Linked DNA regions of Homo sapiens: all the other regions are linked to region 1. The links are contacts of gene promoters, found by promoter capture Hi-C in human tissues and cell types (Jung and others, 2019). All regions are on one chromosome and are shown on one strand. Each heading gives the region's core, a stretch centred on a gene start or on the middle of the fragment in contact. The rest is flanking DNA. Distances are from core to core; before and after follow the strand shown.

Region 1 (7,661 bases), core at 1,900-4,399:
ATAAGTTCCTCCCCCAAATAATCTGAAAAGTCGTTACTCTCCATTTGTAATTTAATGGGTAGACATGCATTTGAGTATATATAAATTTAGTAAAATTGAGCATAAAAGTTAAATGTTTAAAAGAATGATGCAGAAGCAATCAGCCTGTTGTTGGAAGGTAGGGACTGCAATAAAATTGCAGTTTCAATGCAATTTTATTCAACTTAATATAACCTCTACAACAATTCAGTGAGATGGAAATCTGGCATCAGGCATATATTTGAGGAATGGAATGGAAGAATAGAAATTGAACCAGATAAAACGCATCCTAGAAGTAACAGCAAATGCTTCAAGGAAGGCACTTACCAAAAGGCATACTATAACTTATTACATTTCATTAAGTCTGACAACCAGGGCTAAACCTGAATTAGAATATGTGCTTCTGGTATTTACCAGACTTTTCTCTATAAGGAATCCAGGCCAAACAAAATAACAGCCAAACTTTTGACATCTAATTGTAGTAAAAGCACAGGACATCCATCACTAGCTCTTCTAGTTAAACTTCCCACAAGAGAAGATGGGGAGTGGGGAACGGTTGCAAGAACAGGAGATAATACACAAAGCAATGACAACATAAAATCAAAATTGCTTAAAAGAATGTATGTTTCCTCTACGTCAGGGGGACAGTGTCCCTGAACAACACAGCCCATGAACTCACTTAAGGTGATGTGACACCTACTCACATCAATACATAGCAGAACTGCAAGTTGCATTGTCATGCGGTCCAACCCTGTGACATATGCACAAAGCTTTTCTCAAACATCTCTGAAAAGCAGTCATCACTCTGTTTAATCACTTCCAGTGACAGGGAACTCAGCACCCTATGGGACTGTTACTGTCCCTGAGGCCCATTAACTCAAAACTCAAACACATTTTCACCACTCAGGGAGAGGTGGAAGTGATCACAGGGCTCTCCAAAGGGCTTGCCAACCCAACTGTGCCTCCTGTCTCTACCATTCCCAAATCCCCCCTTTCCCTGAGCAGGACTCAAAATTAGCACAGTGTTAATAAATCAGTGGTTTCAGAGTTAGAAGGGACCCTTAAAAAGCCAATACTGTGATATTCATACCACAGTTCTACAAAAGGAATCTCAAGAAGTGCTTGGGCCAAACTGGGAGGGAGAGTGTCCTGTTTCTCTTCCTCTTATTTCAACCTAGGAAGCTCCCACTTTAATTTGTTACATATAGAGGACCAAGGTAGTTTTTTAAAAGGAGGAGGAGAAAAAAAGGACCATTTACAGGTAAATAAACTGAGGTCTTAAAACTTGCTTAATGAAATCATATAGCTAATAGTTGCAGGGTTCAGACAACAACCTCGTCTCTTGGCTCCTTCTCTGGTGCTTTCTCTACCAGATAACATCTGACCATCTACAGGGCAAAATTCAAACTCTGCAATGATACACAAAGCCCTTTAAGATCTCCGCGTCCAATTTTTATGAGAGTCCCACATTCCAGTCTCACTCAAATGTTTATTGAACCAACTTATGTCAGACTGTTACCTACCTCCACAGCTTAGCGCATACTATTCTCTTAGCCTGAGATGTCCTTCTGCACTGGAACCAACTAATCCTCTTTCAAGATTTGTTTTAGGCATCATCGCCTCTATAAAGCCTTTTCTGGTCCTCAGGTAGAACTGACCACATTCTTTTTGTGCCCTACACAACACCTGCAAGGCTTTATGGCACTTGTTTTATGTCTATGTCCGTCTACTCCACCACTGCTTTTACATCATATTACTCTAACACGAGGCTGGTCAGAAGGTAGGTGCTTCATAGACGGTCATCAATAGGGCGAGTGTATTCATCTGGTCCAATCCCCTTTCTAATGTTTAAGTATCCTCTGCTAACTGTCATTAATGCATGCATGACTACATTCATTCAAAAATATCTGAGTGTCTATACAGTGCCAAGTGTATGCCAAGCAGAGAAGGATTTACTGTGAAATTAATGAGGCTTAAGCTTTAGGGTCCCTCTCTTCAATCTTCCAAAGCTCTGAATCTTTCTTGGTGATTTTTATTTCTTGAAGAGGGCAGACAGAACTATATAAGCTGTAGGCCCCACAAAACCTAGATACCTCCTTGGTGTCACGAACACAAAAGGGAACAAGACAAACAGCTCTCCCCTTATGGAGTTTTCTGTTTAATGGGAAAGACAGCCATTTGTTCATTCACTCATTCAACAAACATTTACTAAGCAATGCTATGAGTCATGCATTCTGAGATGAAAACAACACTGTCCCTGCCCTTAAGGAAAAGGTTCCTGTTCCCAGGGAGATGAAGGGACACCTGCTCTGATCAGGGAACAGAAAGTAGTTGAGGTGACTGTAACACTGTGTTTGCGAAAGATTACCCTAAACCCGTCTCAAGAGGAACTGAGTCCTACTTATTGCAGAGACAAAGGGAAGAAAGAGTTCGGCTGAATACAGTTTTTAATCTCAACTAGGGGTGGGAGGCAGACAAGTAAATAGAACAGGCAAATATGGTGTGGTCAGTGCTGCAACAGGAAGCGAAGGACTGTCAGGAGGTTTCCCCTGAGTGCAAGTCTGTAGTGACGGCGAACTCATGACCTCACAAAGCCGCCCATGCACTTTCCAGATAGAGATTTCTGAGGATCTCCTTTCTTGTCCCCCAATCCCTGTCGCCGCAGGAGAAATCTGTTCCCCAATATGCGTCCCCCTTCCTCAAAATAAGGCTGTTCCTTCCCCCAAAAAGCTGTAGGGTCTCTGAGGCCAACTCTTCTGTCCCCCTTAGAGCCACCCCCTTCACACAATGCTTACGGGACGGGGTCTGGTTTGGGGCCCGGGGTCCCTGTCGCAGGACTGCCCCCTCCTCAACCCGCCGTTTCCATAGCAACCAGCTCACCACTTCGCGGGCCCGGCTGGAGAAGTCGCCCTTGGGCCGGGGGCTCCGGCGGAACAGCTCGTCCCGGCTGCCATCGACCCCGCCGCCCACCGCCACTCCCAGCGCCTTGTTCCGCGTCTTCACGGTCTTGACGCTGGCCCGGAATAGCAGCGTGATGTCCACCGCCATAGCGACCCGCACCCTCAGCCCCACACTAGGCCCGCCCACGTAAGCAGCCGGCGACCGCGGCGCGAACCCGGCCGCTGAAGGACTGGTCCTGCCCCACACGCCTCCCCCCGGCAACGGCGACGCGAGAAGAAAGGTTCCGGCCTGCGCCCTGCTACCGCGGCGGGAGGAAAAAGGTTCCGGCCTCAGCCGGCGCACCTGGCGGAGGAGGAACCTCGCGACGCGCTCTCGGGCATCGGTTTCTCCCAGCAAAGCTTGGAGGGTTTAGCTGCGCGGAGAGCTCAGCGAGCTCTTCTGTGTCTGTTTGGGGCGTGTGGGCTCCGGGAGCGTGAGGACCGGGAAGCTAGGAGGCTCCTTCCCTTCTGGCGGCTCCCTCACTGAGACCGGGCGGTTTGGTTGCGGGGGAAGTGGAGACGAGCCACCCTTGACCTTTGACTGCAAGAACTCACCTTGAGCAGGATAGAGGCACGTGGACGGTGACCCTCGGGATGCAATAAATGCTGAGACAGATCAGGTGTGCAAGGCACAGAGCTAGAGGCCAGAGGCCTTTCTTCTCCAACCTTCAGTCACCTCTTTTTAAAGTGAAGCCAGCATCCTCCTCGGGGTTTACTGTGAAAATTAAGTGAGCTGACGCGTGCTGTGTTTTGATGTTGCTTGGCTCCTAGTAAGTGGCCAATAAATGGTAGTAATCGTTAATAATGTTATTATTATAATCACTGTTATTTGTGGTAAAGGAAGAGGCTTTAGAGAAAAGGCGTCACCTGTGCAGAGATTTGAAGGATGAATAGGAAGTTTAGATGGAGACAAAGGTGAAAGAGTGGCCCTAATGCCGCTGGATTCTCTTCATCCTTCATGCATAGTTTTTAATTGTACCGTCTTGAGCCATAGCTATTAAAATTGACAACTCAATCAATGAGTTTCTTCTGCATTTTAGGTTCATGTTCTGTTTTGTGTTGTTTTTTGAGACGGGGGTCTACTATGTTGCCCAGGCTGGATTGCAGTGGCTAGTCAGAGGCGCCATCCTAGCTCACTACAGCTGGAACGCCAGGGCTCAAACGATCCTCCCGGACTCAGCCTCCTGAGTAGCTGGGACTATAGGCACGTGCAACCGTGCCTGGCCTATGGTTCAGTTTTAATTCAAAATCTCATTGATTTCTTCAAGATTTCTTTTTTCATAAAGAGGAAGCACAAGTAGAATATGTATTAAAACAGCAGTTTTAATGGTCATCAAGATAAAATTTTCACAATACTAAGATGTTATTTGCCTTTTCGCTCTGATTTTCTTATGAGTTGCATACAGTTGAGTTTGCTGGAGACTGTGATATTGCAACGGAGTAAATGCAGAACAGCTGTTTTCTATTAAGCCAGACTCCAAAAAAAGACTTTCAAAAACATCAAGTTTTTGTTTTGATTTCTCATATAGTAAATGTCGATAATGTCAATATAAACCAAAATTGTTTAGAGCCCTTAATAATTTTTAAGTGTGCAAAAGAGTTGAGACCAAAAGTTTGAGAACCACTGTGTTAAAAAAATAAAGTTTATCAGAAATAGATGTCAAGAAAGTATATATTTACCAGAAAGGAGGAAGGAAAAGATTTTTTTTTTCTTTGAGGCGGAGTCTTGCTCTGTCGCCCAGGCTGGAGCAAGCTCCGCCTCCCGGGTTCACGCCATTCTCCTGCCTCAGTCTCCCGAGTAGCTGGGACTACAGGCGCCCACCGCCACGCCTGGCTAATTCTTTTGTATTTTTAGTAGAGATGGGGTTTCACCGTGTTAGCCAGGATGGTCTCGATCTCCTGACCTCGTGATCCGCCTGCCTCAGCCTCCCAAAATGCTGGGATTACAGGCGTGAGCCACCGCGCCCGGCCAGGAAAAGATTATTTAAACCCAAACTGTAGCCACTTCTTGCAGTTTAAGGAAAATAAATTTCCATACAGCTTTCTTCCACCTACTGAGGAAAAGAGAAAGAAATTACAAAATCTCTGCCAATGATTCTATCTTGCATAAATGGCCCTTTGTTTAATCCAGACATTAATCAGTTTTTGGCCATGCAAAGTTAAGCCTGGGGTAGAGTAGAAGGAAAGAGAGATTGCCCTGCATAATAAAGTGAGGGGGATTGAATTGGGGGGAAGAAAAGAGAAGCCAGAACCCAGGGAGGGGGCCGGGAAAGTACAAAGTAGGTAACTGGGAAGGATCTTTGAGTGGGAGGGAGGCTGAACTACACCAAGCCTTCAGTGAGTGGTGCCTTGTGTAAACCGTGTGTTTGGTGCAGTTGGATATTTTGGGTAGAAGGGTAGGGACAAAGATCTAAGTTTTCTGTCTGGATTTGCAAGAGCAGAGAAGATTGTGGTGGATATAAGACCCAAGTGAGCTCAAAACATCAGGCTGTAAATCCACAAGTGACCACAAGTACATAAAATTCCTAAATAAGTCACAAAGATCTTGAGGAGGCTGCTGAACTTTCCACAGACCATGGGATATGGGGTTGTGCTTTTTACATTTTGTGTTTACTCTTTAATTTAAAAGAGCAAAGTGACTTCAGTTGACAGTTGACTAATATTAAGCCCCATAAAGCTGAGAGGGGATGTGGGTTAAAAGGATGTGCAGAAATGTTGTGAGAGTATACTACTGCAACTCCAGGGCTCAAACAATCCTCCCGGCTCAGCCTCCTGAGTATCTGGGACTATAGGCGCGTGCCACCATGCCTGGCCTGTTGGAGGTAGCACACAACTGCCCAGTTGGATGTAGTATACAAATTTTGTTTTCTTTATGCATTCAGCAAACATTGAGTGGGCCAGACACTGTTCTGAAAAATACGCAGTCGACTTTTGAACAGCACAGGCTTGAACTGCATGCGGCCACTAATACTCGGACTTCCTTCTGCCTCTGCCATCCCTAAGACAGCAAGACCCACCCCTCCTGCTCCTCAGCCTACTCGATGTGATGATGGTGAGTATGAAGACCTTTACTTTATGATGATCCACTTCCATTTAATGGATAGTAAATATATTTTCTCTTCCTATGATTTTCTTAATACCATTTTCTTTTCTCTAGCTTACTTTATTGAAAGAATACAGTATCTAATACATATGACATGCAAAATATGTGTTAACGGACTGTTTATGTTATTGATAAGGATTCTGGTCAACAGTAGGCTATTATTAGTTAAGATGTTAGGGAGTCAGAAGTTATACACAAATTTCCAACTGTGAGGGGTGGAGGAGTCATCAAGGATCAACTGTATTGGCACCCCTAAATATAGCTCACTACAGCAGCAACACCTATGCAAGGAGACTAGATGTAGGCTGCCAGTGAAAACCAACGTGTAATTTCTGGGCAGCAAATTTAAGAGCTAATGTATGATTCACGATGCTCTTTTCCCTCTGCTATGACAACCCTTAATGTTCCAATGTTCCATCAGCCTGAGTCCTTAAGTAAAGATGACATGGAGCATAGCCAACCAAGGACATTGTATTAGTCAGAGTTCTCTAGAGGGACAGAACTAATAGGATAGGTGTATATATAAAGGGGAGCTTATTAAGGAGTATTGACTCACATGATCACAAGGTGAGGTCCCACAATAGGCCATCTGCAAGCTGAGGAGCAAGGAGAGACAGTCCAAGTCCCAAAGCTGAAGAACTTGGAGTCTGATGTTCCAGGGCAGGAAGCATCCAGCACGGGAGAAAGATGTAGGCCAGAAGACTAAGCCAGTCTAGTCTTTCCATGTTCTTCTGCCTGCTTTTCTTCTGGCCATGCTGGCAGCTGATTAGATTGTACCCACCTAGATTGAGAGTGGGTCTGCCTTTCCCAGTTCACTGACTCAAACGTTAATCTCCTTTGGCAACACCCTCACAGACACACCCAGGAACAATACTTTGCATCCTTCAGTCAAGTTGACACTCAATATTAACCATCACAGACATGTACTAAGATTGAGAATTGTCCACAGATTTGTGGGTGTTTGTTAACTGCAGCATAATTAGCCTGTCCTGATTGATGACAACCCATATCTAGGTATCTACCAAAACAGGAATATTAGATGTATTCTCCACTCACCATCGTAACAGTATTATTCCTCAGTGAATGAAGCATGGAGAGGAAAGAACAGTTGTGCCTAAACCTAACCAATGGAAAAGACCAGGCTGGCAGGGACAGAGTGGCAGAAACCTTGGAAGACTGTGACCATGGCAGGGTAGAATTTATAACACAAGAGGAAAGGCCTTCAAAAACATATACCTTCACGTTAGGAGGTAAACTCAATGAAATTCATTGAAAACCATTTTTCCCCCCTCAGGGACTCTGGAAAGGACCCTGACTCTAGGGGTGGGAAGCTCAAAGAAGAAGCTTTTGTTCCCAAGAGGGAACCTAGATAAAGAATTCAGGGTGGATTTCTCTTGTTTTTTTTTTTCTTTTTTTTTTCTTTCTTTCTTTTTTTTTATTTTTTTATTTTTGAGATGGAGTTTTGCTCTTGTTGCCCAGGCTAGAGTGCAATGGCGTGATCTCAGCTCACTGCAACCTCCACCTTCTGGGTTCAAGCAATTCTCCTTCTTCAGCCTCCCAAGTAGCTAGGATTACAGACGTCCTCCACCATGCCCAGCTAA
Region 2 (7,661 bases), core at 3,558-6,057, 390 kb after region 1:
CAAAACCGCACAACTATATGGAAACTGAACAACCTGCTCCTGAATGACTACTGGGTAAATAACAAAATTAAGGCAGAAATCAGGAAGTTCTTTGAAACCAATGAGAACAAAGATACAACATACCAGAATCTCTGGGACACAGCTAAACCAGTGTTTAGAGGGAAATTTATAGCTCTAAATGCCCACAGAAGAAAGCAGGAAATACCTAAAATTGACACCCTAGCATCACAATTAAAAGAACCAGAGAAGCAAGGGCAAACAAATTTAAAAGCTACTAGAAGATAAGAAATAACTAAGATCAGAGCAGAACTGGAGGAGATAGAGACACAAAAAACCTTCAAAAAATCAATGAATCCAGGAGCTGGTTTTTTAAAAAAATTAACAAAATAGATAGATTGCTAGCAAGACTAATAAAGAAGAAAAGAGAGAAGAATCAAATAGACACAGTAAAAAAATGATAAAGGGGGTATCACCACTGATCCCACAGAAATACAAACCACCATCAGAGAATACTGTAAACACCTTTATGCAAATAAACTAGAAAATCTAGAAGAAATGGATAAATTTCTGGACACATACACCCTCCCAGGACTAAACCAGGAAGAAGTGGAATCCCTAAATAGACCAATAACAAGTTCTGAAATTGAGGCAGTAATTAATAGATTACCAACCAAAAAAAGCCCAGGACCAGACGGATTCACAGCCAAATTCTCCCAGACGTACAAAGAGGAGCTGGTACCATTTCTTCTGAAACTATGCCAAACAATCAAAGAAGAGGGACTCCTCCATAACTCATTTTATGAGGCCAGCTTCATCCTGATACCAAAACCTGGCAGAGACACAACAAAAAAAGAAAACTTCAGGCCAATATCCCTGATGAACATCATTGCAAAAATCCTCAATAAAATACTGGCAAACCGAATCCAGCAGCAAGTCAAAAAGCTTATCCACCATGATCAAGTCAGCTTCATCCCTGGGATGCAAGGCTGGTTCAACGTACACAAATCAATAAATGTAATCCATCAGATAAACAGAACCAATGACAAAAACCACATGATTATCTCAATAGATGCAGAAAAGGCCTTTGATAAAATACAACATCCCTTCATGTTAAAAACTCTCAATAAACTAGATATTGATGGAATGTATCTCAAAATAATAAGAGCTATTTTGACAAACCTACAGCCAGTATCATTCTGAATAGGCAAAAGCTGGAAGCATTCCCTTTGAAAACCAGCACAAGACAAGGATGCCCTCTCCCACCACTGCTATTCGACATAGTATTGGAAGTTCTGGCCAGGGCAATTAGGCAAGAGAAAGAAATAAATGGTACTCAAATAGGAAAAGAGGAAGTCAAATTGTCTCTGGTTACAGATGACATGATTATATATTTAGAAAACCCCATCGTCTCAGCCTAAAAACTTCCTAAGCTGATAAGCAATTTCAGCAAAGTCACAGGATACAAAACCAACGTGCAAAAATCACAAGCATTCCTATATGCCAATAATAGACAAACAGAGAGCCAAATCATGAGTGAACTCCCATTCACAATTGCTACAAAGAGAATAAAATACCTAGGAATACAACTTACAAGGTACGTGAAGGACCTCTTCAAGGAGAACTACAAACCACTGCTCAAGGAAATAAGAGAGGACACAAACAAATGGAAAAACATTCCATGCTCATGGATGGGAAGAATCAATATCATGAAAATGGCCATACTGCCCAAAGTAAATTATAAATTAAATGCTATCCCCATCAAGCTACCACTGACTTTCTTCACAGAATTAGAAAAAACTACTTTAAATTTCATATGGAACCAAAAAAGAGCCCATATAGCCAAGACAATCCTAAGCAAAAAGAACAAAGCTGGAGGCATCACACTACCTGACTTCAAACTATACTATGAGGCTACAGTAACCAAAACAGCATAGTACTGGTATTAAATCAAATATAGAGGCCAATGGAACAGAACAGATACCGCAGAAATAATGCCACACATCTAAAAACATCTGATCTTTGACTAACCTGACAAAAACAAGCAATGGGGAAAGGATTCTCTGTTTAATAAATGGTGTTGGGAAAACTGGCTAGCTATATGCAGAAAACTGAAACTGGACCCCTTCCTAACATCTTATACAAAAATGAACTCAAGATAGATTACAGATTTAAATGTAAGACCTAAAACCATAAAAACCCTAGTAGAAACCCTAGGTAATACCATTCAAAACATAGGCATGGGAAAAGACCTCATGTCTAAAACACCAAAAGCAATGGCAACAAAAGCCAAAATTGACAAACCGTATCTAATTAAACTAAAGAGCTTCTGCACAGCAAAAGAAACTAGCATGAGTGAACAGGCAACCTATAGAATGGGAGAAAATTTTTGCAATCTATCCAACTGACAAAGGGCTAATATCCGGAATCTACAAGGAACTTAAGCAAATTTAAAAGAAAAAGCAAACAACCCCATCAAAAAGTAGGCAAAGGATATGAACAGTCACTTCTCAAAAGAAGGCATTTATGTGGCCAACAAACATGAAAAAAAGCTCATCATCACTGGTCATTAGAGAAATGCAAATCAAAACCACAGTGAGAGAGTGTAAATTAGTTCAGCCATTATGGAAGACAGTGTGGTGATTTCTCAAGGATCTAGAACCAGAAATATCATTTGAAACAGCAACCTCATTACTGGATATATACTCAAAGGATTATAAATCATTTTACTATAAAGACACATGCACACGTATGTTTATTGAAGCACTATTCACAATAGCAAAGACTAGGAACCAACCCAAATGCCCATCAATGATTAACTGGATAAAGAAAATGTGGCACATATACACCATGGAATACTATGCAGCCATAAAAAAGGATGAGTTCATGTCCTTTGCAGGGACATGAATGAAGCTGGAAACCATGATTCTCATGCAAACTAACACAGGAACAGAAAACCAACACCACATGTTCTCACTCATAAGTGGAAGTTGAACAATGAGAACTCATGGACACAGGGAGGGGAACATCAGACACTGGGGCTTGTTGGGGGATGAGCGGCTAGGGGAGGGATAGCATTAGGAGAAATGCCTAATGTAGATGATGGGTTGATTGGTGCAGCAAACCACTATGGCAAGTGTATACCTACGTAACCTGCACGTTCTGCACATGTATCCCAGAACTTAAAGTATAATAATAATAAAAAAAGAAAACAAAAGGCTTTGGCATTTTTCCTTTAGTACCCTCCCTGTCTTCACAAAGGTCTCGGGTTTGCAGTCAATGTGCCTGTTTCTTGTTCTGAAGTCTGGAGGGCTGGGCCTAGAAAGCAGGAAGGCAGTCATTTGTGATGAAACTGAGAAAGTTGGATGAAACTTCCACATTCTTGCAAATTCACACCTTCTCTGAGTGCTGCACTTAGCCACGTGCTAAGTATTTCAGTGCCTTCTGGGGGCCTGGGAGGCTGGATGAAATTATTGAGTTATGAAGCAATTTTACTTGGAATGAATAGTGAATTTTTTTTCTTGCAACAAAGAGACACCAACGTGTATTTTTGGTTTTTGGTTTTTGTTTTTGTTGTTTTTTTTTCCTTTGCAATTAATTTTAGGAAGTACTTGTGAATGCAATCAAGGTGAGGGTGGACAAAGTCATACTCGGCATTGTCTCAGAGCTGCAGAGCCAAGCAACAGCCTTAATGAACAAAGCCACATGGTCTTGGGGTTGGAGGGAAGGTTTATAACTGACTCAAGGCCTCAGCAATTGTGGGACACTGAGGGCTCACTCAGGCCCAGAGATGTGGGGAACCCTGGAGGCTGGGAGGCTTCCTTGACCCCTGCATAGAAAAACAATGCATCAGGGAGAAAGCCCTTCACTTTTGCTGCTTTATAATGGCCTGATGGAGCTATGTGGACCCTTCAGGTAAATTGGGACACTGGCTATTATAAAAGAGGTGCACAGGCAGTGAGGGGGAGAAGTTAATAATATTAATAATAATTCTGATGATTACTCTGCACGAGGCACTATTTCTATTCCCTATAGCTCTCCTGCAAGATAGACATTACTAGGCCCATTTTTATGTGCAAGGAAATTGAGCCTCAGAGCATTAAGTAACTTGCCCTGGAGCATGTGTCTGGTAGCAGGGCAATCAACTGTCCCAATTTGCTTGGGACTGTCGTGGTTTTAGCACTGAAATTTCTGCATCTCTGGAAACCTTCTATTCTGGGCAAACTAGGACAGTTGGTCACCCTAGAGGAGTCAGGGCCAAGATGACAGCCAGGTCCACCTGGTTCCCAAGACTGTTGCTCAACACCATACCAGCCTCATATGTAAGGCAAAGCTCTTTCCCATAAGGCCGCATGAATAGGAAGCTTCAGAAGAAGAATTTGAACCTAGGACTGTCTTCCTCCAGAGTGGGTATTTTCTTACCAGGCCATCAAGACAGGAGCACCTGACTGTTGATACACAATGGCAGAAGGTTCCAGAATACCTGTAGCCCTGTGGTGCTTCTGTGAACCGATAGGTAGGCCTAGTGGTTATGCCTTTCCAGGGGCACACATATTCCTGGGGGAGAAGCTGGAGTCTTTGCAGCATCTGCATCCTGGCCCTGATTTCAGGCCAGGCCTGGTGGAGAGCAGGGATGTCCTAAAGCTTTGAGGAGTGAAGGAGGGAGGAGACTGCACACAAGTTTGCTTTCATTTAAAGAGCAACACCAGGCTGGGCACGGTGGCTCAGCAAAATGCTGTAATCCCAGCACTTTGGGAGGCCAAGGCGGGTGGATCACCTGAGGTCAGGAGTTTGAGACCAGCCTGGCCAACATGGTGAAACCCCATCTCTACTAAAAACAAAAATAAAAAAATTGGCCGAGCATGGTGGTGGGTGCCTGTCATCCCAGCTACTTGGGAGGCTGAGGCAGGAAAATCCCTTGAACCCGGGAGGCAGAGGTTGCAGTGAGTTGAGATCGCACCACTGCACTCCAGCCTGGGGTGACAGAGCAAGACAATAAATAAATAAACAAACAAAGAGCAACACCAATGTTCAACTGCTCAATAATCGGCAGACACAAATACAGATATAAAATAAAGACCAATTTTAGTTGAGGTGTCACTTCTCTTTGTCTCTCTGTCTTTCTCGCTCTCTCTCTCTCTTTCTCTCTCTCTACATACAATGTGTATAAATAATATATAACATATTCTGTCACCATATTTATATGCTCACAAAAGTTTTTCAAGCTGTTTCTCCTTCCTTGAAGCTGTTTTGAATTTATGAGCAACTAGAGTAGAAAACTTATTCTTCATTGTGGCTGGCATTAAACATCACATTTAGCTCCTTGTCCTAATTATCCCTAGATTTGTTTCTATGTTTTGCTACTCCCCGGAATCCCTGTCTTTCCAACCTCCCTGGTTCCAGGACCCCTGGGTCCTCATTCCTTGTAGGTAGAAAAGATCCCAGATGGAAAGATGTGCCAGCCGAGTCTATTTCAAGTGACTTTGCACCTTGGCTGTTGGCACACTGCTGGTGTGTTCTGATATCTGTTCTCCCCTCTTTCTACGGTAATAAAAGCCTGACGTTTTGGCTGAGCACACAGCCACCCCTGAAGTAAAGACTACATTTAGCAGCATTCTTTGCAGCCAACTGTGGCTCTTTGACTAAGTTTTGGCCAAAGGATATGAGTGTGACTTATACAAGCTCTGAGTTATGCCCTTAAAGGGAAGCCTTATACCCTCTCCAGCACCATTTCTTCTCTTCCTGCTAGTTGGAATACAAATGTGTTGGTGAACTCTTTGGGAGAATTTCTTCATTTATTTAACTGGGATAATCTTGAATAAAAAAGCAAACAAAGAAAAAAGACTCCATGGTGAATAACCAGCAGAAATAAAAGACAATAGAAATAGACCTACAAAGATGTCAGATATTCGAATTATCAGAGGCTGACCACAAAACAACATCATAGAGATGGCAGAACAACATCCTGGGAGAAGCTTGGGTTCCTGATACCTTGGGGGCTGCCTGGCTAGCCTGCATATGTAAGGGAGAAGTCAGTGTCTAACTTGGGCTTCTGCTATGGTAACTGACACCATGTCCGAGTAGCATACTGCTTCTCTGTAGCAGCTAATTTCATTCCTGAGTCATTGTCTTCCAATCGTTATGTTAGTATATGCTATCTTTTGGATATGGCTTATTTGGCCCTGCCAAGTCTCATGTTGGAATTTGATCCCCAGTGTTGAAAGTGGGGTCTTGTGGGAGGTGTTTGGGTTGTGGGGGTAGATCCCTCATGAATGGCTTGGTGCCATTCTTGTGGGAGTAAGTGAGTTTTCATTCTTAATTCTTGCAAGAGCTGGTTGTTGAAAAGAGCCTAGTACCTCTTTCCATCTCTCTCTCAGCTACCCCTTCACCATGTGATCTCTGCATACCAGCTACCTTTTGCCTTCTGACATGAACGGAAGAAGCCTGCAGCCCTCACCAGAAGCAGATGCTGATGCCATGCTTCTTGTACAGCCGGCAGAACTGTGAGTCAAATAAGCCTCTTTTCTTTATAAATTACCCAGCTTTGGGTATTCCTTTGCAGCAACACAAGTGGACTAATAATAATATATTTATTAGCAGAGTCATTTTCAGAAATAGCTTAAGCTGACACCAAACAAAATCTTCAACTTCTAGGGCTTTTTAAATCATAATTTTGGTGAGAACCTGACCACTCTTTTTTTAAATGATGGCAATTGCAAGGGTCCAGAAAGATCTAGAATTGGTTGGAATTGGTAGAAAAAGAGGAGATGAAGATGGTGGAGGTGAAGGATAAGGCATGATAGCATCTAACCTTTATTGAGTGATAACTCTGCCCCAACACTATGCTAAACACTTTACGTATATACTCCTGTGAGTTATGCACTATTACAACTTCCACCTTGTAAGTGAGGAAACTGAGGCTTACTGTGCCCAGTCACACTGGTTTCCCTGCAGGTTCTCTCTAACAGTGTGCTTTGTCCTATGATCATCACTTTGCATATGCTAGTCCCTCTGTCCTGAATACCCTTCCTACCTCAGGTTGCCAGATACACAAACAAAACTCAATGAATAAACAAAAACAGGAGGTGCAGTTACATGTGAATATCAGATAAACAATGAGTAAGATTTTATTATAAACACATCTCATGCAATATAATAATGTTATGCTAAACATTATTTGTTGTCTATTTAAAATTCAAATGTAACTGGGTGCCTGGGCAGCCCCATTTCTTTTTCTTTTTATTATTTATTTATTTATTTTTAGGCAGAGTCTCGCTCTGTCACCAGGCTGCAGTACAGTGATGCAATCTCGGCTCACTGCAACCTCTGACTCCCTGGTTCAAGCAATTCTCCTGCCTCAGCCTCCCAAGTAGCTGGGATTACAGGCACACGCCACCACACCCAGCTACTTTTTGTATTTTTAATAGAGACCGGGTTTCGCCATGTTGGCCAGGATGGTCTTGATCTCCTGACCTCGTGATCCGCCCGCCTTGGCCTCCCAAAGTGTTGGGATTACAGGCGTGAGCCACCACGCCCAGCCTTGGGCAGCCCCATTTTTATCCCAACCCTCTTCCTTTTTTTTTTTTTTTTTTTTTTTTTGAGGGACTCTTGCTCTGTTGCCCAGCCTGGAGTGCAATGGTGTGATCTAGGTTCACTGCAACCTC
Region 3 (7,661 bases), core at 3,472-5,971, 350 kb after region 1:
TTAGCACTGCAGAAAGAGTGTCTACACATGACATGATGAAAATGCAGGATGGGCTTATTGAAGGGCTAGAGTGCTGCACATTCACAACAGAACAAAAAAATCATGTCCTTTGATAAAATCAAAGAGAGACTCTCAGAAAAAAAACCTTATTAAGGAGGCAGAGGACTCTGCAGGAAATGTTTAAAAAGCCATCTCGCGGAATGCCTCCTCATTCTGCCTGGAGGACTCACTTTCTTGTTCCTCAACTGCTTCTCATGTTTTTCTTCGCCCAAAACAAACCAAAGCAAAAAAAACAACAAAAAACAGTTACTAGGCCAGGCACTGTGGCTCACGCCTGTAATCCCAGCACTTTGGGAGGCCAAGATGGGTGGATCACCTGAGATCAGGAGTTTGAGACCAGCCTGGCCAACATGGTGAAACCCCATCTCTATCCCAGCTACTAGGGAGGCTGAGGCAGGAGAATCGCTTGAACCTGGGAGTCGGAGGTTGCAGCGAGCCGAGATCACGCCATTACACTCCAGCCTGGGTGACAGAGCAAGACTGTCTCAAAACAAACAAACAAACAGACAAAACCAGTTATTAGTAACCTTTTAATCAGGCAACGCGTTGCTAGTGAAGTCGAACGCCGCCTTTGCTGGCTGCTGCTGGTTAGCGGTGATGCAGGAGTTCTCGTGATGCTGCCGCATGGGTGCCCTGAACACATGATTTTTCACTGTATTAATGGCATATCTTTTTTTTTTTTTACTGTTAAAGTACTCATGTGAATAAGTGTAAGAAAATGGTTATTTATTGGTAGAATATAAATTCAGAGTCAGGAATGTTGGTGATGCCAACCAACCACAGATTGTCCACATTGGTGGCTGAGATAATTACACTGTTGCTTTCTTTCTTTGTTTATTTCTTTGTTTATTTATTTATTTGAGATGGAATCTTGCTCTGTCGCCCAGGCTGGAGTGCAGTGGCACGATCTCAGCTCACTGCAACCTCTGCCTCCCGGGTTCAAGCGATTCTTCTGCCTCAGCCTCCCGAGTAGCTGGAATAATAGGTGTGCACCACACCAGGCTAATTTTTGTATTTTTAGTAGAGACAGGGTTTTGCCATGTTGGCCAGGCTGGTCTTGAATTCTTGACCTCAGGTGATCTTCCCTCCTCGGCCTCCCAAAGTGCTGGGACCACAGGTGAGCCACTGTGCCCATTCCCTGCACCTTTGCTTTCTGATGTTTTAGTGTACACAAACTTTGTTTTCAGCCCAAGATTATTAAAATTATTGCATAAAATTACCTGCAAGCTATGTGTATGAGGTTTATATAAAACATAAATGAATTTATTGTTTAGACTTGGGTCCCACCCCCAAGATATCTCATTATATGTATGTAAATATTCCAAAATCTGATAAAAAGTCTAATATGGTTTAGCTCTGTGTCCCCACTCAAATCTCATCTTGAATTGTAATCCCTACATGTTGAGGGAGGGATGTGGTGGGAGGTGATGGGGTCATGGGGGCTGTTTCCTTCACGCTGTTCTCATGATAGCGAGTGAGTTCTCACGAGATCTGATGGTTTTATAAGTGGTAGTTTCCCCTGTTCCTTTCCTCTTCTGCCACCATGTAAGACATGCCTTGCTTTTCCTTCGGCTTCTGCTGTGATTGTAAGTTTCCTGAGGCTTCCCCAGCCATATGGAACTGTGAGTCAAACCTCTTTCCTTCATGAATTACCCAGTCTCAGGTATTCTTTATAGCACTGTGAAAATGGACTAATACAAATCCTAAATGCAGAGCACTCCTTGTTTCAAGCATTTCAGATAAGGGATACTCAACCTGTACCCTTAATTGCTAATCATTTCTCTTCCCAGAATTCCTATTACTTCCTATTGTTTGGATGTTTTGCTGATTAGATCAATCCTTTAATTTTAAAAAATCTTTTAAAATCTCTCCTATGTTCCATTCTGAAGATTTTCTGCATTTTATCATTCATTCATTTCCTTGATGGTTTCATTTCTGCTGTCATATTCGTAGTGTTTAAGAGCTCTTCCATATTCTCTGAATGTCACCTTTATTATAGCATCCTGTTCTTGTTTCACAGATGCAATATTTATCTCTCCGAGGCTTGGAATTACAGATTTTTAAAAAAATAAGTTTATTCTGCTTGCTGCATTTTCTCTCTTTTCTCTGAGTTCCTTCTCTCTCTCTCCCTTTCTGCTTTCATCTTCCTCTTTTATATCAAGAGATGCTTCCCAAATGACTGGTGACATTTGCCCAAAAACATGAAATAAGAGCTCTGTGGGCATAATCTGGGTTTGTGGGCAAGTCAGGCAATGAAGCAGCGATCCGTCATTTCACTGGTGCTGCCGAAATGGCAGTTTGTGTAGGTCTTTCCCCTTATGCCAGTGGGTTTCCCTAGAGGGGGATCCTTCAGTTTCTTCCCAGGGGAGGGCAGCAAGGGCACAGCCTGGCTGCCAGGTTTCTGGGAGCCAAGTTGAGAAAGGTGCCCAGATATCTCACCATTGTGAGTGCAGAATTCCTCCACATGTTCTGGGATTAGCCAGGTGTCAGGACACCTCCTTCAGATGTGTTGGTGTTCCTGAAGCCAAAGCCTGTTTGGGGCAATTCCTCCAGAGAGGAAACCAGAGAGGTGGCTCATGAGGACGGGTGGTACTCATCTCGCTGCCTGTGATGAGGACCTTCCCACCAGGCCTGTGTGCTCCCCATTCATTTCCTGCCCCTGGACCTCTCATTCCTGGGCTATTATTCCTGGATCTAGCCATAAGTGGCTTACTTGTGGTCACTCCCCTCAAAGGCTGGGATGGAACTGTGAGAGAATACATTTACCATGTTAAAAGACACCCAGCTTGTGGTTAATTGGTCACAGCAGCCTCAGGGAACTAATGATGCATTTGGGAAAAGTTTTCACAACAAAGGTATGAGTGTAGAACATCTCAGGATTCTCCCACACATGACCAACTGGATACCTGCTGAACTATGACCTGGTTTCTAAAGATCCAGGGCAGCAATCTCAGGCTGATGTTTCTTTCCAGCTTAGGCTTGGTTAATTTATTGCAGGCTCTGCAGTTTTCAATGCAGGGTGTATGTGGAAACCACCTGGTTTCCATCCCAGAAGCTACCTGGTCTCCATCCCAGGGCATTTTAAAAGAGGTTCTGTATGTGCTTCAGGTTACACGGTCCTGGTGAAGAGTCACGGCTCTGAAACCAGCATTGGCCCCCAACATAGAGGATAGAGGAGAGCAGACCCAGAGGGAGTCTCCTGGCCTGTTCTTGAACTAGGGAGACCTCTGGGAGTGTCAGGGAGGAGTAGTGCTTTGGGACCCAACCTTGTGATTGAGAAACAGAGGCCCAGAAAAAGCAAATGACTTGCTAAACTCATGAAGCTGGCAAGTGATGAAGCTGGAATTTGAACCAAGCTAGAAGTTAGGTCTCTTGACTCCAACCTCTGGTTTTCGTTTCCTTTGGGCATGTATCTCTGAGACTGGAAAATGTAACCTAATGGATCTATTCATGGTCTGGGGCCATGTGGCCAAATCCCACGTAGGTCCCCTCCCACAGAGCCCCAAGGTAAAGAATAAGGCAGAATAAAATGAACTAACTTTAATCAAAAGGAAATGCTCCTTGTGCCTCCTCTATGCCTGGCCGACACTGGGTGCCGGGACTAGGGAGTGAGGTGGTCCTTGCTGTCAAGGATGGAGGGAAGGAACTCCCTAACAGCAGCCTGTGCTGAGCCCATGACACGTGCACCAGACACAGACTCAGGGCCACTCAACTAGCAGCAGGTGTCGCCACTGAACAGGTAGGAAAGCCAAGGCTCAAAGGGTAACAGATCCTAGCAAGGGTCACCCAGGTTTAAGGTGGGGTTATGGGTCAAGTGCCTGTCCATATTCATATGCTGAAATCCACAACATTATAAAAATCCCAGTTCCCAGGTCAAGAGATGCCTACATAGCCCACCAACAAGCTCAAATTCATGTGCTGAAATCTAACCCCCTATGTGACAGCATTTGGAGGTGAGGCCTTTGGGAGGTGATGAGGTGTTGAGGGCTGAGCCCTCATGATGGAATTCGTGCCTTATGAGAAGGGACCAGAGAGCCAGTGTCCCCTCTTTCCACCATGTGAGGATCCAAGGAGAAGTCAGGATTCTGCAACCCAGAAGGGGGCCCTCGCCAGACCTTGGCCATGCTGGAGCCTTGATCTTGGACTGGCGGCCTCCAGAATTGTGAGAAATAGGCATCCATTGTGGATAAGCCACCCACTGTGGTACTTTGTTATAGCAGCTGGAGCTAAGACAAATGGTGAAGCCAGGTTAGAACTCAGCTCTCTCCGATTTACAACTTGTTGGGGCAGAGGGAATGAGAACAGGTCATTGCAGCCTTCCCCAAGATGTACTATCTCAGGTGGTCCTTCTTCCCCAGGAATTCTGCCCGTCGCTAGCCCCAGGGGCTAGGATTGAAGGAGTGGAGGGGAAGAATGATGTGCCCTCTGAAAAGGCATCTTCCCATGCCTGTGGGCAAAGGTAGAGCCTGTGTTGAGTTACAGGTCTTTGGCATAAGGTGTCACAGAACTGGGCTGTGTTTATGAACTACCTAGGGATCTCCTGACCTGGGAAGCAGGGTTGTTATAATGCTAAGCCTGGGGAAGGCAAGGGGAACAGGGGTGATCAGAGGACACCTTGGTGGGTCTGACTCAGTCTTCCATGTCTGTTTCTCAGACCTACTGAGTTCGCTGAGAAGACCCTTGAGTGAGCGGATGGCAGGCAGGTTGCTTCCTCACAACGAGGAGTAAGCCAGCCCCAGCTGCGGCAGGCCCTGCCCACCTGCCCTCAGCGGGTGAGCAGAGGAGCCCGGCGCTGTCCCGAAGGAGGGCATCTCAGACGTAAGGGCAGGCACACCTAGCTTCTGGGCTGCCCTGTGTGCTCCTCCACTTCTCTGAGCCTCAGTTTCCTCATCTCCAACATGGGATGACTCTGATGATAACACAGTAATGCCTACCTTACAAGGTTTTTTTTTTTTTTTTAAAAGATTAAGAACTGCAGTGGGGGAGCATGTTTTGTAAAAACATCAAATCCAAATAAACATCAGATTTCCCTGTCTTGTGCACTCCCATGGCCCCTTCAATAGCACTGAAGTCTGCTACGTCACTGTCAATTTTACTGCATGTCTCCACGGTGAGGATGAAAGCTCTCTGCCAGCAGGCACCCAGGCTACTCTGCCCATTGTCAAATTCTTGCCTGATGCTTAGGTGCTTAATAAATATTGGCTAAATGACTATATGCAAATGTTATTGTTAATATGATTGCACTCTGATAGGATTAATACATCTTTTGTCTTATGAATAGAGCATTCTATACTAGATTTTGTCTTCTAGGATATACATAGGGACTCCTCGACAGTCAATATTTCTCTCTTTCTTTCTCACCCTCTCCAAATTCCACCTCTGTCCATCTATCTGTCATCCCTGAGTCCAACCCAGCACAGATCCTTCTTCCTCAGCCCTCCCAGGCAGCTCCTGTCCTTTCCCACAGGGAATTTCCAGGCCCAGGCCTGGCAGAGGTCAAACTATCTGGACCTGGGACCCTCTTGAGCCTGGCAGAGGTCAAACTATCTGGACCTGGGACCCTCTTGAGTCCAAAGGCAGGCTCTGGTCTGACCCAGTACCGGTCTCAGTGATGGACTGAAGCCATTATAGGCTGTGGCTGGGCACAAACCTCCTGATCAACATGAAAAAGACGTCAAGTATCTGAAAAAATCTATGTTTTGGCTGCAGGCTCGCCTTAACCCCTCATGAGCTGCCTCTGTTGAAAGGCTTTTCTTTTTTTTTTAATTTTGTTTTGTTTTGCGTGCAGATTATCTGAGAACTGCTTGGCACTTGGGAATTTTCCACTGGCGCGAGCTAAGCCTGCTAATGCCAAGAAAGGAGAGAAGAAAAATCAGACAAAATGGGTCCCGCTCTCCTGCCAGTCTCAATTTGGGAGACTTTTTCCATCCTTGGGGCCATTTGTGAAAAATCAAGCTCTGAGGCCTTCTAGGGAAAATCTCTGGGCTTTTGATTCTCCAGTGTGGAAATTCTCTGCATTTGAATATTAAGTAGTGAAATGAGAAGGGTGTGGGTTACTGATGCCAAAACAGTTGTGTGCACTTATTTATTTATTTTTTTCCTTTATCATGGGGAGGCAGCGTGGTTTCTGTAGTCTGAGAAAGCTTAATCAAACTGTGGCTTCGTTAGTTACTGCGTGGGTTGGAGAAATTACGTTGTTTCCCGAGCCTCAGTTTACTGCTCTGTAAAAAGAGCTAATGGTACTCATTTTGATGAGTTATTCGGAGGAGTTACTGTGTGGATTCTGTGTGTGTTCTGTGGTCTTCTTCTTCCTAGGGTGTGTGTGTGTGTGTGTGTGTGTGTTTGTCTTTTATGAATGAGGGGCTAGGTGGAGATGGTGTTTTCCTGTAGGGGTTTCTGAGCCCCACTACCTAATTATCTCTAAAAGGCCCTTCCAGTGTTAATCAAATGAAGAGCTGTATCTTCAGCTGGGAAGCTGAATCTTGGAGGGTGGGCCCTGGGCTGGTAGCGGGGGACTTGCATGAATCACTACAGATTATCATTCCTCAAGGGCAGGTGTGTCTGGCAGGGTGGTCTTTCGGGCAGTGGGTGCTAAGATGGTAAGCAGAGCAGGTCAGAAGCCAGGATGACATAGCCTGCTGAGATGATGCTGTTTTATGTTCCTCTCCATATTTATTTTGGACTTTAGGGAAAAAAATCTTGATAAAATAGAACCTTTTATTCATGTCTCAACTGTGCTATGGGATTTTAAAGGGAAGAATCTCTGTAAAGACAGCGAAAATGTGTAGGGGCCCTGAGCAAGCAAAGAGTTTGTCCTCCAAACTCATGTTCCCTAAATGTTGCCTTCATATTCATCTGGGGGTAGGAGTGGCAGATATGGGGAAGTAGGAACCCTGATTCTATATCTCTTTTGCTGTCAGAACAGTTCTGCTCTGGCCCAAATTTGCAGGCTTTACAGAATAAAATAAAACTATAATTAACTCAGGCCCCTCTAATAAGATTAGATCAACCATCTGTTGATCATCAAGCCTGCCTTTGGGGGTCTTATTTTTCAATCCAGGAGGCCCCTCAAAGAATTCTTTCCTGTCACACTGCCCTTGAGATAATTTTGCTAAATATAATTCCCTCCATCTTACTCTCCCTGGAATGATCTGGTCCCTCTCATAGATGGCTTCAGAGACATGCTCAGCTGTTGGTTCTTTTTTCTCTCTTTCCTTTTATAGACAGGGTCTTGCTCTGATACTGAGACTGGAGTGCAGTGGGGCAACCGTAGCTTAGCTGAGACCACAGGTTCATGCCACCATGCCTGGCTAATGTTTTTTTTATCTTTGTAGAGGTGAGGTCTCACTGTTTCCCAGGCTGGTCTTGAACTCCTGGGCTCAACTGATGCTCTCACTTCTGCCTTCCAAAGTGCTGGGATGACAGGCATGAGCTATCATGCCTGGCCTTGTTGGTTCTTAATCTGGCTCTGTGAGGCTGTCTAAGGGGGACAACCCATCTCCCCTAGGCCAGAGAGGTGGATCATGGTAGCAGAAACCAGCATCATCCATGAAGTCAAGAGGATTGGGACTGTGAGGTCCCAAACCCCTTCCTTGATGGAG
Region 4 (7,661 bases), core at 3,375-5,874, 260 kb before region 1:
TCCACATTCAAAAATCAAGTTGCATTTTATATAACAACCAGAAAGAGAAATTAAGAAAACAATTCCATTTGCAACAGCATCAAAAAGAATAATCAGGAATAAACTTAACTGAAGAGGCAAAAGACTTGTTTACTGAAAACCAAAAAACACTGCTGAAAGAAATTAAAGTAGACACAAATAAATGAAAAACATTCCGTACTCATGGACTGGGAGACTTAAAGTTGTTAAGATGTTAATACTACCCAAGCAATCTACAGATTCAATACAATTCCTATCAAAATCCAATGTGTGTGTATATATACGTTTTTACAGAAACAGAAAAATCCATCCTAAAACTCACAGGGAATCTCAAAAGATACCAAATAGCCAAAACAATCTTGAAAAGAACAACAAAAATGCAGATCTCATATTTTCTGATTTCAAAACTTATTACAAAGCTGTAATAAGTTTCTGTAGTTTGCTGACCCCTGCTTCAGAGGATTTCATCGAGTGTGACAGCAGCAGAGACGGAACTCACAGACCCATGCACCTCAACCTTAGGGTCTAGGAACGTCATCTGGTTTTTAGAGAATTACAGAGAGTGCTCAAAAGTGTGGCTGCTGGTCACCAGTGCAAACAGGATTTCATTAGCTTCTCAATCTGCTCTAGTAAGTCCTTTGTGAACAGAAATACCCTCCCAGTAGTATGCTCATTCAGTAAGCTAGTTAATGTCTGAAAAATTCACGTTCCAACTCTATTATCAAATGGAACGATTACTTTTTATTGGTTTTTAGAAAAACACAGAATTTTCAATAGATGACATCCGTCTTTTCATTATCCCACCTTCCTTTCTGAATCCTTCCTCCTGCTACCTATTCTGTAAATGATCAGTAGCATTCTGAGAGTTATACTTCCCAGTGAATTAGGGAGTCAATGTTTCTGCCATTTCTACTGTGCATGTTTTCATGCTGTTTTAGTTAAGTAGAAAATTCTCTGCATTGACGAAAGTATCTTTATTTTGCCTAATTCTAATGACTGGCAGATGTGACAGATTAACATGGCTTGAGTTATAAAAGCTCCATTATCACTAGAAGCAGGGAGAGATTAGAAGCTTCCATTTAGTTTTACAGCCAAGGGAAAGCTAATGAGAATTCTAAAACTTTTTTTTCAAGAAATTAACAAAACACATGGATTAAAGGTATAATGCACCGCAACTGTTTTAACAGCTAGAAGAATAAAGAACTTTTTTTCTTTCTTTTCTTTTTCTTTTTTTTTGAGACGGAGTCTCACTCTGTCACCCAGTACAACCTCGGCTCACTGCAACCTCTGCCTCCTGGCTTCAAGCGATTCTCCTGCCTCAGCCTCCTGAGTAGCTGGGATTACAGGCACCCGCCACTATGCCCGGCTAATTTTTTGTATTTTTAGTAGAGATGGGGTTTCACCACGTTGTCTAGGCAGGTCTTGAACTCCTGACCTCGTGACTCGCCTGCCTTGGCCTCCCAAAGTGCTGGGATTACAGGCGTGAGCCACCATGCCCAGCCAAAGAATTCTTTTTCAAGAGGTTTTAGTTCAACCTGTCTATCCTAGGACATGAGGTTTCCAGAGCTTGTCTGCAGGGATGACACATTTACTCTTAGTCTCTTGGGCTTCCAAAGAAAGCGGAAGCTGTCAGAGGAAGCTACTCAATGAGTTAGAGAGACGTTACCTGAATCCACGCCTGCTGTTTGATGTCGCCTTTGTGGGTTTTACCTTCATAGCCTTTGCCACCATACTTCTGATCTTCACTTATGCATTTCACGTGGTTTTTATAGTCATCGCCCCTTTAAAGTGATCAAAAGTTCTGCCATTAGACTGATACCCAAGTTGGAGGCGCTAATACCAGCATGCTGCCACTATCTTCTGTGGTCTACACTGTATATTTTCACATGTGTCTATCACACAAGCACCCCATCTATTTCACTTATTATGTTTACAGCCTCCTGGTCAGAACCACATCCCCCTTCCTCCAAAGTCGTCAATATAAAACCCATCACCAAACTTTTCCCCCATTTTTATAAACACCTTAAGCTAAATTGATAGGCAGTATTTTTTTAAGTCATAAGTGTACATATACTGAATAAACAAGAAAATAGTTCTATGCAATAGGGTAGTTTTTTTAAATTATAAAAATCTCAATGTCTAATAGACAGTCAATAATTAGTTGTAGAATAAATCAAAAACAGATATAAAATGGCAGCATGAGGTTACCAACAGTTCTGGATCCCTTAGGGTCCTGAGAAAAAAGAAAACTAAATTCTCTCTCATATAATCTTTGTAAAGCTCTATGGGGTTCTTCAGGGAAATGTTGGGGACAAGGTCCAGGGCAAAGTCCCCTAATGAAAACTCAATTTTAACCTACTTTATATATCAAGCTTCCTCCTAGGATTACGTCTGAACAGAGGTTAGCAGTTTCCAAAAAAAATCACTGCTCCAGAATGAATTAAAAGAGAGTATTAGCCAGTACCATCCGAATGCCTCAGAGGACACTGGGGCAGATGCAGCCAGAAGCCAGCTTCTCGCCTGGACCTTCTGAGGCTGAAGGGGAATCAACATGAAATTCAAGAGGGGAGCCCTCTGCAAACGACCCACCTGAAGAACCGGTGTCTAAGGCAGGATCTGTCCTGTCCCTCCCCGCTAACTCCTCACATTCACAGAGGCCTCCTCAGTGGAAGTGTCTCCTGACACACCCGTGGGGCCAGGAAGAGCCTCACTTCCACCAGCACCTCTGATTTTCTAGGGAGGACATAGTTTCCTCTGCTACCAGTCATCTGCCCCACTGTGAGCTCATAAATTCACTTTCTGGTTCATAAGTCCATCTCTCCACTGTGATGGGCATGTGATACCCATGGTCTAATGAAACTGGCTCTAAACCCCTGGAGCCATCTTCCACGCAGTTAGTTCCCTGGGTCTGTAAACAGTGGCAATGCAATAGCAACCAGTGTCACCAACTGACTGAACACTCTAATCATCATAATTCCCCTTCCCCTAGTCTTTTCTTTAACATATCCTCAAAAAGCAAATTGTTTCGTAAAGCACATTTCTCCCCCCCAAGAAGGGGTTAACTTGCTCTGTTGCCCAGGCTGGAGTGCAGTGGTGAAATCTCGGCTCACCGCAACCTCTGCCTCCTGGGTTCAAGCGATTCTCCTGCCTCAGCCTCCCGAGTAGCTGGGATTACAGGCGCCCACCACCACGCCTGACTAATTTTTGTATTTTTAGTAGAGACAGGGTTTCACTATGTTGGCCAGGCTGGTCTTCAACTCCTGACCTCATGAGCCACCCACCTTGGCCTCCCAAAGTGCTGGGATTACAGGCCTGAGCCACTGCGCCCGGCCTAGTAAAGCACATTTGAAAGAATCACACCAGTTTTAATCAATGGAACATACCAGTTTTTAGTCTTAATTTCATTCTTCAAATTTGCCACTATTTTTCCAAGCTTTGTGGCGCCAAGGCTTCCAAAACTGATCTGGATTTACTATGGATCTACATGAATTCTGTGAAGCTTACCAGAAATCTTTACCGCAGTCAATGCAAGAAAGGCATTCACAGTTTCTGCAAACAGACACATGCTTTTCCACTTGTATTTTCTTCACTGATTCACCACATGCATTGCATGTAAAAAATACCATTTTTAGGTAAATGGCTAAATATTCTCTATCCAAGACAGGTTTTAAGTCTTGTCCTAAGGAAAAAAAGACAATTATAATTATAAACTGAAACTTCTCATTTCAATAAATGGCTCATGCCCCTAACTTTTCAACCATAATTTCACATGAAAATAACAGAGTCAAAGTTGATTAGCAATCTACATAAAATTCCACCATTCATATAAGTAAAACTAACATTAACAATGAGAATGGCTAACATTTATTGTGTCCTTACCACGTGCCAGGCACTATTCTAGAGGCTTTACATTTATTCACTTATTCAATCCCCGCAGTAACCCTATGAGGGAAGGACTATTATTGTTCAAAATTTATATGAGGTAACTGAGACACAGAGATTACATAACTTGCCCAAGGATACACGGTTAACAGAACCAGGATTTAAACCTGGCAGATTGGCTCTCAAGATGAAGAGCTTTGAGGGTGTTAAATCTTACTTTCCATAATACCTTAAACTCTCTCTCTGTATATGAAACTTATAGAAGGCATTGCAATTTAGGTGTACACTACAAACTATTTCAGGTCCTCAAATATACTAAGAACACAGCAAGAGGAAAACTGAGTGAAGTTTAGAAAGTGAAGAAGAGGCAATTCTATGGGCACAATTTCTATGGCACTAAAAGCATTCATATCAATATTACTATATATCTACAAAGGTTAAAATGAGGACATGCGCCTCAGCTGTAATGGACAGGGGCCTTCTTCATGTGGCAGCTTGTCAGACAAGTCAGAAAGAAACGGAACCAAGTCCAGGTGTCCCAACTGCTGGGTGCTGAATTACTGGAGTTCACAAACCCAGGTGTCCCGAGCACTGCCCCAAAAAGAAGTATGTCTGCACACGCACATAAACATCATTGTAAAATTTCACAGAAATGCTACCGTGCTCAGGAAAACACAAATTCGTCTAGAAGTGTTAGAGAAGTCACAGTAATTTTCCATACTTACATAATTTTTAATCACTAGATTTTAAAACAGCATTGTTGTTTTACATTATAAGTTTTACAGCAAAAATACTGAGAACTGTTTAACCCAGAGCTTTCTTCCTCATTAGGAAAATAAAGGTGAGGGTCAAGTAAACCGATGCAATTTACTTCAGGGTAGGACTTCATCCAACAAGCTTTCAGTACAAATGATCTACCCTTGGTTTGCAGAGAATTCCCATGCATGAAATCACCGTTGCTCCTCCACCAGCATGTTTTGGATCACTGCCAGTGAGGCCACACCCAAGCAACGACCAAGGTTATTCATGTCCATTCAGCCTTGAATGGAAATGTACATCCTGGCTGCATCTCCAGGGTTCACAAAGGTCCAGCTGGTCTCTTGTGGAGGCCTCTTGCCCTGTGGGACACTATCAGACATCAGCTCAGCTTCTACGCTACATACAAACCACAGACCCCTGATTCCGCGGTCCCAGGCCCCGCTCCTCAGCTCACTATCAGTGTATGTTAGTAAACGGACAGCATGTGGTCAGCTACAACCTAGCACCAAATCCTCAGGAAGGAAAACATGACTACCCTCGATGTGCTGCAGCAACTGTCATCTTCTCATCTGCTTACTGTAAAGATGTGTGATATTGTCAAGCTCCTGGGAGCTGGAATCACGTTTCCCACAACCCAGCTCCCTCAAAGCTTACCATTCTAAAAAAAGGCAGAGGGATGATCAACATGTCAGGCAACAAGAGCAGCTATCCTGCCTGACAAGGGAGAACAAAGGCTGGAATAAGAGCCAACATCACATTCTCAAAGAGCATGGAGGTGCACTTTGGTGTAAGAGCAGGAATAACTTATTAGTCACCAAGAAATAGATTGTCATCACAGGCACAAGGTGAAAGCAGCCGTGATATGCCAAATTATCTGCTGAAAAACGTTAAAGCACTTTTCTAATAAGATACAACAACAAAAAACAGTCTCTGAAACTTAGATACGGCTTAGAGCTTGCCAACCTCTGTTGCTGAGGACAATTCTATTTCTGGATGGAGTGGGAGATGGGAGGAAGAAAGGTTTCGACAAGGCTTAAGAGTGAATTGAGAGATTCCTGTCCCAGCAGGAATTAAAGGCCTAGGAAGGAAGCTGGAAACAAAATATATTGACTGAAAGAAGCAGTGAAAGCAGTGATGTTGACAAAAAGATACTCAAGAGTAACTGTGCCAAACATTCTATCTCTCTGGAGATCGGCTACACACTACAGTGTAATTAAATATCAATTCAGAAGGTGATTAGAATCTGGTTACATGTCCAGCTAAAAAATAACTCTCACATCATTTTCATTTGGTCTTTACTTGTTTAAGGCCAAATGGGTGGATTGCACAGGAAGTCAGAACTGTCTCTTCCTGCCTTCCTCCGGATTTTTACACTTGCCATGAAATGGGAACAGCTCTGTGTCCACTTGCTTGGCTAATGAGCTAATGTCTGTAAGGAGCTTACCTCTCCTTTATTCAGAGCCTGGAGGACAGTCCAGCACCTTGATTACACCTCAAACCCAACCTAGCCCCAGGCGAAAATACCTGTAATTTATGCCATAAACACTTGCTTGGGCTTCAAAGAAAAGCTCAAAACCATCAGAAGCTTCAAAGTCAGCCTAACTGCACAGCAGACAGGGTGTCCCAGGTCTTAGTGCAGGCTTAATATTCGTAAGCGTAAATGCTACAAACTTACAAAAAGCCGTCAGGTGGAAATTCAGTCCCTCTAATGGAAGACAGCAAACATTGCCTAAAACAAAAATGTAAATACTACAAACTTACAAAAAGCCGTCATGTAGAAATTCAGTCACTCCAATGGAAGACAGCAAACATTGCCTAAAACAAAAAAGTAAAACGGTATTGTTCAAATTCCACAAGACTAGATAAGCATGAAGGAAATTTAATTAAACTTTTTTTTTTTTTTTTTGAGAAAGGAGTCTCGCTTTGTCGCCCAGGCTGGAGTGCAGTGGTGCATTCTTGGCTCACTGCAAGCTCCGCCTCCCGGGTTCATGCCATTCTCTTGCCTCAGCCTCCCGAGTAGCTGGGATTACAGGCATCCGCCACCACGCCCAGCTTATTTTTTGTATTTTTTAGTAGAGATAGATGGGGTTTCACCGTGTTAGCCAGGATGGTCTCAATCTCCTGACCTCGTGATCCGCCTGCCTCGGCCTCCCAAAGTGCTGGGATTACAGGCGTGAGCCACCGCGCCCGGCCTTAATTAAATTTTAAATGATGTTTTGGCAAGTTTGGATCATTTATGCTTCTGAAATTATGAAAGCTTAAAACTGCATTAAGATTTTGAGGACACCCAGTCTGCCGGGCTCAGATGTGACAGATTTCAACATCTAGCCCTAAGTGTAAAAAGACAGCAGTTTTTTCATGGGGCTGGATCTAAATAGAGTCCTCTTTTCCTTCCCTGGCTCCCCAACTCCCTCTGCCCAATGTCCAGTCCCAGCGCAGCCAGAGAGATTCTACATGCTTTCCTTCTGGCCACATGCGCATGTTAAAAGAGAAAGGCAGGCAGAAGGCAGTGTTCTTGGACTGGTTGAGAGCATACTTCGGTTCTTGCTCAGTCACTTTAACTCAATTCGGCAGACATTTCCTGAATGCTGACACTATCCTATCCACCCAGATACACCTGGGGCCCTCACGCAGGTCCTCTGCGTGTGCTCCTGGCTGCGTCTTCGTCTGTCTGTATGGTCAGTTTACTGAGCTCTCATCACATGCCATACCCATGAAAAAGATGACGGGGTCTGCACCATAGAACACATGATCATTAGCTCTCTACAAAGCCGTGTCCCATTTATGAACACAACTGCCCCCAATACCACTAAGACTGCTATGATCATACTACCTCCATCTGGAGAGAAAACCTAAGGCTCAGGAGGGTAAGTGAACTGCCCGAAGTCACAGTAAGTGGCAGAGGTGGCCTGAAAGACCAGGCAGCAAGCCCAGGCTCCCACCCTGCCTCCATCTTGACCTGCCATGTCCTAGCCGTTTGCTTGGTGGTTACTCAGCACCTG

Evidence for each region. Contacts are between HindIII fragments. The study calls those that stand out against the background at their distance.
Region 2: a fragment that was not itself captured here is called in contact with the fragment with the promoter of STX18 in region 1 in 1 of the 25 tissues and cell types used here (bladder).
Region 3: a fragment that was not itself captured here is called in contact with the fragment with the promoter of STX18 in region 1 in 1 of the 25 tissues and cell types used here (heart left ventricle).
Region 4: a fragment that was not itself captured here is called in contact with the fragment with the promoter of STX18 in region 1 in 1 of the 25 tissues and cell types used here (dorsolateral prefrontal cortex).

What each region holds. Positions count from the first base shown.
Region 1 is chr4:4,538,899-4,546,559 of GRCh38, forward strand. STX18 (syntaxin 18) reads right to left here and starts at 3,150. Exons shown (of 11, transcript NM_016930.4): 1 at 2,899-3,150. The coding sequence starts at 3,066. LOC124900165 reads left to right here and starts at 3,233. Exons shown (of 6, transcript XM_047416490.1): 1 at 3,233-3,577; 2 at 5,840-6,009. STX18-AS1 (STX18 antisense RNA 1 (head to head)) reads left to right here and starts at 3,233. Exons shown (of 6, transcript NR_037888.1): 1 at 3,233-3,577; 2 at 5,840-6,009. RefSeq lists enhancers at 3,020-3,299, 3,024-3,318. The HindIII fragment of the contact is 5,470 bases long and covers 2,657-7,661 here.
Region 2 is chr4:4,927,446-4,935,106 of GRCh38, forward strand. It overlaps LOC101928306 (a long non-coding RNA gene), which reads left to right. Exons shown (of 3, transcript NR_125893.1): 2 at 6,375-6,500. Among named protein-coding and RNA genes, the nearest start is that of MSX1, 72 kb to the left of the region's middle. The HindIII fragment of the contact is 4,312 bases long and covers 2,652-6,963 here.
Region 3 is chr4:4,885,165-4,892,825 of GRCh38, forward strand. No RefSeq gene overlaps it. Among named protein-coding and RNA genes, the nearest start is that of MSX1, 29 kb to the left of the region's middle. RefSeq lists a silencer at 3,578-3,872. The HindIII fragment of the contact is 8,117 bases long and covers 664-7,661 here.
Region 4 is chr4:4,280,099-4,287,759 of GRCh38, forward strand. LYAR (Ly1 antibody reactive) reads right to left here. Exons shown (of 10, transcript NM_017816.3): 2 at 6,421-6,474; 3 at 3,523-3,697; 4 at 1,685-1,799. The coding sequence starts at 3,644. Among named protein-coding and RNA genes, the nearest start is that of LYAR, 6.2 kb to the right of the region's middle. The HindIII fragment of the contact is 5,768 bases long and covers 1,741-7,508 here.